2 separate regions of the Homo sapiens genome follow, and region 1 is linked to region 2. Evidence: promoter capture Hi-C in 16 types of primary human blood cells and fetal thymus (Javierre and others, 2016). All regions are on one chromosome and are shown on one strand. The core of a region is centred on a gene start or on the middle of the fragment in contact, and the rest is flanking DNA. Distances in the headings are between cores, read along the strand shown.

What was found. Contacts are between HindIII fragments. The CHiCAGO score rates a contact against its expected background, and 5 or more counts as called.
Region 1: a fragment that was not itself captured here is called in contact with the fragment with the promoter of RNASEH2A in region 2 in 8 of 17 cell types (naive CD4 T cells, total CD8 T cells, monocytes and 5 more); the score reaches 7.3 in naive CD4 T cells.

Annotation. Positions count from the first base shown.
Region 1 is chr19:12,739,090-12,742,572 of GRCh38, forward strand. All of the region lies in intron 2 of GET3 (guided entry of tail-anchored proteins factor 3, ATPase), which reads left to right. Among named protein-coding and RNA genes, the nearest start is that of GET3, 3.3 kb to the left of the region's middle. The HindIII fragment of the contact is 4,185 bases long and covers 1-3,483 here.
Region 2 is chr19:12,804,784-12,808,642 of GRCh38, forward strand. RNASEH2A (ribonuclease H2 subunit A) reads left to right here and starts at 1,801. Exons shown (of 8, transcript NM_006397.3): 1 at 1,801-2,017; 2 at 2,225-2,296; 3 at 2,423-2,546; 4 at 2,636-2,723. The coding sequence starts at 1,891. RefSeq lists a cis regulatory region at 1,048-2,080 and enhancers at 1,525-1,654, 1,855-1,904. The HindIII fragment of the contact is 3,433 bases long and covers 1-2,587 here.

The DNA.
Region 1 (3,483 bases), core at 603-3,102, 66 kb before region 2:
GGGTGTAACCAGTTGAGAGATGACAACATCCTGGACTCTGGTGGAGGCAGAATGTTGGGGGAGAAGTAGTCAGACTTGAGGTTTTTTTTTTTTTTAGACACTCAAGACTCCTCTGTCTCCCAGGCTGGAGTGCAGTAACCCGATCTAGGCTGACTGCAACCTCCGCCTCCCAGGTTCAAGCAATGCTCCTGCCTCAGCCTCCCGAGTAGCTGGCACTACAGGCTTGCGCCACCACTGCCTGTTAATTTTGTTTTTTTTAGGAGACAGGTTTTCACCATATTGGCCAGGCTGGTCTCAAACTCCTGACCTCAAGTGATCTGACTGCCTCGGCCTCCCACAGTGCTGGGATTACAGGCATGAGCCACCACATCGCACCAGGGATGTATTTTGGAAGTAAACCAGTAAGATTACTTGGGTGAGAAAAAGAAATGAATTGATTACATGTCTTTCTTGTCTCTCTGAGCAGCTGGGATGGGGAAAACTAGGAAAGGAGTAGGTTTAGAATGAACAAATAAAGAATTTCATTTTGTCCACAGTGAATCTGAGTTGCCCACTGGAAATCCAAGTGTAAACATCATGACAGTAGCTTGTTTATGTGAGTCTGGAGCCCAGAGGAGGTTGGCATTGATTTGGAAGTCACTGTCTCAAGGGTGGCATTTAAAGCTGTGTGAGGGCTGGGCATGGTGGCTCATTCCTGTAATCCTAGCACTTTGAGAAGCCAAGGTGGGCGGATCACTTGAGGTCAAGAGTTTGAGACCAGCCTGGCCAACATGGTGAAACCCCATCACTACTAAAAATATAAACCAATTAGCTGGGCATGGTGGCAGGTGCCTGTAATACCAGCTACTCAGAAGGCTAAGGTAGGAGAATCGCTAGAACCCAGGAAGCAGAGATTCTCCTGCCTCAGCCTCCGGAGTTGCTGGGATTACAGGTGCCTACCACCATGCCCGGCTAATTTTTGTATTTTTAGTAGAGACGAGGTTTTCTCACGTCTCAAAAAAAAAAAAAATTGGCTGGGCGCAGTGGCTCACTCCTGTCATCCCAGCACTGTGGGAGACCGAGGCGGGTGGATCACAAGGTCAGGAGATCAAGACCCTCCTGGCTAACACGGTGAAAGCCCATCTCTACTAAAAATACAAAAAATAGCTGGGCATGGTGGCAGGCGCCTTTAGTCCCAGCTGCTCAGGAGGCTGAGGCAGGAGAGTGGCGTGAACCCCGGAGGCGGAGCTTGCAGTGAGCTGAGATCGCGCCACTGCACTCCAGCCTGGGCGACAGAGCAACACTCTGTCTCAAAAAAATAATAAAGGCCGGGCACGGTGGCTCACATCTGTAATCTCAGCACTTTGGGAGGCTGAGGCGGGCAGATCACAAGGTCAAGAGACTGAGACCATCTTGGCTAACACGGTGAAACCTCATCTCTACTAAAAATACAAAAAAATTAGCCAGGTATGGTGGCGGGCACCTGTAGTCCCAGCTACTCCGGAGGCTGAGGCAGGAGAATGGCGTGAACGCGGGAAGTGGACCTTGCAGTGAGCCGAGATCGCGCCACTGCTTTACAGCCTGAACAACGGAGCGAGACTCAACAAAAAATAATAAATAAAAATAAAATAAAATAAAGAGATGCTGCAGAGTGAGGATGCTGGCAGAGGACAGTCCTCAGGTGGGATGAGCTCCATCCAGCATACAGACCCAGAACTTGGGCGCTGCCAGGGTCAGGGACTGGGAGGGAAACAGGAGGAATTGGGGCACTTCCCGGGCAGAGATGAGGGTGTTGGCAGCCAATGGCTTCTCTTTCTCACCAAGGAACAGGCAAGGGTCTCAGCAGTGAATGGGATAGAAGTTTGAGGAGGGAGAAAATACCACATAAACACTTATTAAGGTAGCAGGGGGAACCAGAATTGTCTGGATCATCAAGTGCCCATTGGAGATTTGTGTTCAGAAGAGGGGAGCAAGGGCGGGCGTGGTGGCTCATGCCTGTAATCCCAGCACTTCGGGAGGCTGAGGCAGGTGGATCAGAAGGTCAGGAGTTAAAGACCAGCCTAGCCAAGATGGTGGAACTCCATCTCTACTAAAAATACAAAAATTAGCTGGGCATGGTGGCTCACGCCTGTAATCCCAGCACTCTGGGAGGCCGAGGTGGGCGGATCACAAAGTCAGGAGATTGAGACCAGCCTGGCTAACAGGGTGAAACCCCATCTCTACTAAAAATACAAAAAGTTAGCCGGGCGTGATGGCGGGTGCCTTTAATCCCAGTTATTCGGGAGGCTGAGGCAGGAGAATGGCGTGAACGCGGGAGGTGGAGCTTACAGTGAGCCTAGATCGCGCCACTGCACTCCAGCGTGGGTGACAGAGCAAGACTCCATCTCAAAAAAAAAAATACAAAAATAAGCCAGGCACGGTGGCTCACGCCTGTAATCCCAGCACTTTGGGAGGCTGAGGCGGGCAGATCACCTGAGGTCGGGAGTTCGAGACCAGCCTGACCAATATGGTGAAACCCCGTCTCTACTAAAAATACAAAAATTAGCCTTGCGTGGTGGCCGGCACCTGTAGTCCCAGTTACACGGGAGGCTGAGGCAGGAGAATTGCTTGAACCTGGGAGACGGAGGTTGCAGTGAGCCGAGATCATGCCACTGCACTCCAGCCTGGGATACAGAGCGACACTCCATCTCAAAAAAAAAAAATTAGTTGGGCCTGGTGGTGGGCGCCTGTAATCCCAGATACTCGGGAGGCTGAGGCAAAGAATTGCTTGAACCTGGGAGGCGGAGGTCACAGTGAGTCGAGATTGTGCCACTGTACTCCAACCTGGATGACAGAGCGAGACTCCGTCTCCAAAAGGGTGAGGAGCAAGATGGGAATACTCTTCAGGAGTGTTCGGCCCTCAAGTGCAGTGATACTAAAGAGCTAGAAAGCCATACCTATCATTTCAGTGCTTGCAGAGACTGAGACAAGAGGATCACGTGAGGTCAGGAGTTCAAGACCAGCCTGGGCAACAAAGGGAGACCCTTTCTCTACAAAAAACAAACAAAATTAGCTGGGCATGGTGGTGTGTGCCTATAGTCCCAGTAAGTTGGTAGGTTGAGGCAGGAGGATCATTTGAGCCTAAGAGTTTGAGGCTGCAATGAGCTATGTATGAGATGGTATCTTTTTTTTTTTTTTTTTTGAGACTGAGTTTCACTCTGTCACCCAGGCTGGAGTGCAGTGGTGTGATCTCAGCTCACTGCAACCTCTACCTCCTGAGTTTAAGCGATTCTCCTGCCTCAGCCTCCCAAGTAGCTGTGATTACAGGCGCCCGCCACCACATCCGGCTAATTTTTGTTTTGGGGGGGTTTTTTTTGTTTGTTTTGAGACGGAGTCTTATTCTGTCGCCCAGGATGGAGTGCAGTGGCGCAATCTCGGTTCACTGCAACCTCTTCCTCCCGATTTCAAGTGATTCTCCTGCCTCAGCCTCCCGAGTAGCTGGGACTCCAGGTGCATGCCACCATG
Region 2 (3,859 bases), core at 551-3,050:
TAAAAAATTAGCTGGGCGCGGTGGCGGGCGCCTGTAGTCCCAGCTACTCGGGAGGCTGAGGCAGGAGAATGGCATGAACCCGGGAGGCGGAGCCTGCAGTGAGCCGAGATCGCGCCACTGCACTCCAGCCTGGGCGACAGAGCGAGACTCTGTCTCAAAAAAAACCAACCAAACAAACAAACAAACAAAAACATTTAAGTTAGATGAGCGTGGCGGCACATGCCTGTGGTCCCAGCTACTCGGTACGATGGGGAGGAAGGATCGCTTGAGCCTGGGAGGCAAAGGTTACAATAAGCCGAGATCGCTACACTGCTATCCAGCCTGGGCAACAGAGTAACATCCTGTCTCAAAAAAAAAAAAAAAAAAAAAAAAAAAAAAAAAGTGGAGGGGGAGGCGAAGAGGAGTAAAAGGAGATAAAGAGACAATGAACTAGGACCCTGAGGAAGGGGCATGAGCCTGGTAAGGGGCGGGAACCCACAGGCAGAGGACATGAGCCCCAGTGAGCCCAGGGAATAGAAGTGGTGGATGCCAGGCACTGTGGCTGGCTCAGGCTTGTAATCCCAACACTTTGGGAGGCTGAGGCGACCGGATCGCTTGAGCCCAGGAGTTTGAAGCCAGCCTGGGCAACATAATGAGACCCCGTCTCTACAAAAAATACCAAAAATAGTCGGGCATGGTGGTGTGGTGTGCACCTGTAGTCCAGCTGCTTGGGAGACTGAGGTGGGAGGATCGCGTCAGCCCAGGAGGTGGAGGTTGCAGTGAGCCAAGATCGCGCCACTGCACTCCAGCCTGGACAACAGAGAGAGACCCTGTCTAAAAAAAAAAGAAGGCCGGGTGCGGTGGCTCACGCCTGCAATCCCAACACTTTGGGAGGCCGAGGCGGGCGGATCACAAGGTCAGGAAATCGAGACCAACCTGGCTAACACGGTGAAACCCCATCTCTACTAAAAAGTACAAAAAATTAGCCGGGTGTGGTGGCGGGCGCCTGTAGTCCCAGCTATTCGGGAGACTGAGGCAGGAGAATGGCGTGAACCCGGGACGCGGAGCTTGCAGTGAGCGGAGATGGCGCCATTGCACTCCAGCCTGGGCGACAAGAGCGAGACTCTGTCTCAAAAAAAAAAAAAAGAAAAAAAAAAAGTGGGTCGAGGGGTGGGGGTGGGGACATTCATTCTAAGTTGGGAGGAATGAGCTTCTATAGGGAGCAGAGACCCTGAGCAGGAGTCCACCGAGGTCTGTGATCTCCAACGGGGGTGGGGAAGGCTTGGCCTGAATGAGACAGAGGTTAGGAAGCACAGATCTTGCACGGAGTGGAGGTGGGCCGAAGGGAGCAACCAAGAGAGGGAGTTTGGGGACTCCAAATCCAAAAGCCTGGGTTTAGTGGAAGCGGGGCTACCTGGTCCAGGGGACTTAGAATGTGTACAGAAGCAGGGACCGCAAGTACAGGGCCTGAATCCAAGTGGCAGTTGGGGACCCAGTGATGCGGTGACCCGTGTCCTGGGAGTGGGGTGATATTTGACTCTCTAGTTCCCCGTTAGGCTGGGTCTTCGAAGCTACGTCTCAGTTTCCCTCTTATTTCCCCCTCTTCCCACCGGGCCACGCAGGCGGGGCCCCAGAGACCGTGAAGCAGAGCTTGCAAAGTGACCCCGTCCACCGAATTCCCCAAGCTGAGTGTTCGGCCATAGCCCTTCGGGACTACAATTCCCAGGAGGGCGCACGGCAGCGACGTCGGCGTCGGCTGCGTAAGCGTCCACGGCGGCGGGAGCGCCAGGGGCGTGTTCTGCCCGCGGATTGGCCGGAAGCAGGCGCCGCTTCGAGGCCCGCGGAAAACGCGCGCCGAGACCCGCTCCTGCAGTATTAGTTCTTGCAGCTGGTGGTGGCGGCTGAGGCGGCATGGATCTCAGCGAGCTGGAGAGAGACAATACAGGCCGCTGTCGCCTGAGTTCGCCTGTGCCCGCGGTGTGCCGCAAGGAGCCTTGCGTCCTGGGCGTCGATGAGGCGGGCAGGGGCCCCGTGCTGGGTGCGCCCCTAGGGCCAGGGAGGGGAGGGGCGTGGTACGGAGGATGCGGGAAACGGGAGTCGGGATTGCACTGCACCAAGGGAGGGGATGTGGTCGTGGTGATGGCACCTAAAGAAGCAGTGATGATAGAACAGGGATGAATGGCAACTTTCACGGGCTCAGTGATTGGACCCCGGCTGCCAGAAAACTGACACCCCTTCTCCCCAGGCCCCATGGTCTACGCCATCTGTTATTGTCCCCTGCCTCGCCTGGCAGATCTGGAGGCGCTGAAAGTGGCAGGTGAGCCCGAGGTGTGCGTCTGGGGAAGGGATTCCTGGGTATGTGCAGGGGCAGGTGAGAACTGAAAGGGGAGGGCAGGAACTGGGAGAACCAGCTGTTCCCCTTCTCTTCCAAACCTCCTCCCAGACTCAAAGACCCTATTGGAGAGCGAGCGGGAAAGGCTGTTTGCGAAAATGGAGGACACGGACTTTGTCGGCTGGGCGCTGGATGTGCTGTCTCCAAACCTCATCTCTACCAGCATGCTTGGGCGGTGAGGGGTCCCCGGGAGGGGCAGCCAGCATGGGCTGACCAAGCTTTGTTCCTAGAATGAGATTAACTGGGCTCTGTTCCCCACCACAGGGTCAAATACAACCTGAACTCCCTGTCACATGATACAGCCACTGGGCTTATACAGTATGCATTGGACCAGGGCGTGAACGTCACCCAGGTGAGTTAACTGTAAGTTGTCCCCATTTGGTCATCTCAGGATAAAATGGGGACAAAACAGGAGTTCGAGACTGCAGTGAGCCATGATCATGCCACAGCACTCCATCCTGGGTGACAAAGGAAGCCCCCCAACTCAAAAATGGAGGCAGGGCGCAGTGGCTCACGCCTATAATCGCAGCACTTTGGGAAGCCGCGGCGGGTAGATCACCGGAGGTCAAGAGTTCGAGACCAGCCTGACCAACATGGTGAAACCCCGTCTCTACTAAAAATACAAAAATTAGCTGGACGTGGTGGCAGGCGCCTGTAATCCTAGCTACTCAGGAGGCTGAGACAGGAGAATCGCTTGAACCCAGGAGGCAGAAGTTGCAGTGAGCCAAGATTGTGCCATTGCACTCCAACCCGGGCAACAGAGCAAGACCCTGTCTCAAAAAAATAAAAAATAAAAAATAAACTAAAAATGGGAGACCAGGCGCAGTGGCTCACGGCTGTAATCCCAGCGTTTCAGGAGGCTGAGGCAGGCAGATCACCTGAGGTCAGGAGTTGAAGACCATCCTGGCCAACATGGTGAAACCTCATCTCTACTGAAAATACAAAAAATTAGCCCAGCATGGTGGCGGGTGCCTGTAATCCCACCTATTGGTGAGGCCGAGGCAGAAGAATTGCTCGAACCCGGGAGGCGGAGGTTGCAGTGAGGTGAGATCGCGCCATTGCACTCCAGCCTGGGGGACAGAGCGAAAAATAAAAATAAAAATAAAATAAAAAATAAATGTGGGCAAAAATGTGCAGTGTGCAGATTCAGCATCAGATACGTCTGGAGTGCCTCGGGCATATTCATTGCTACTGTTGATTTCGTGCTCCTGTTTCTGCCCTAAATGTGTGCCACACTGACGACCACAGTGTAGCCCCTAGTCCCGTCTCCATCTAATCTCTCCCTCATCCTAAAGGCTCAGTCTCCAGAACAAATCCTACATTGTCTACCTGTCACCTCTGTCCTAGCCCAGGACACCCCCCACTCCCTGGACACCTGCTGAGTGTCGTCTCTCGTCCCTCACCCTCCTATCCCCTCCAATCTGTTCCCCAAGCAGCAACAGAAGGTAGTCTTTTTGAAATGCACATCTCGACATTTAGTTTTCCGAT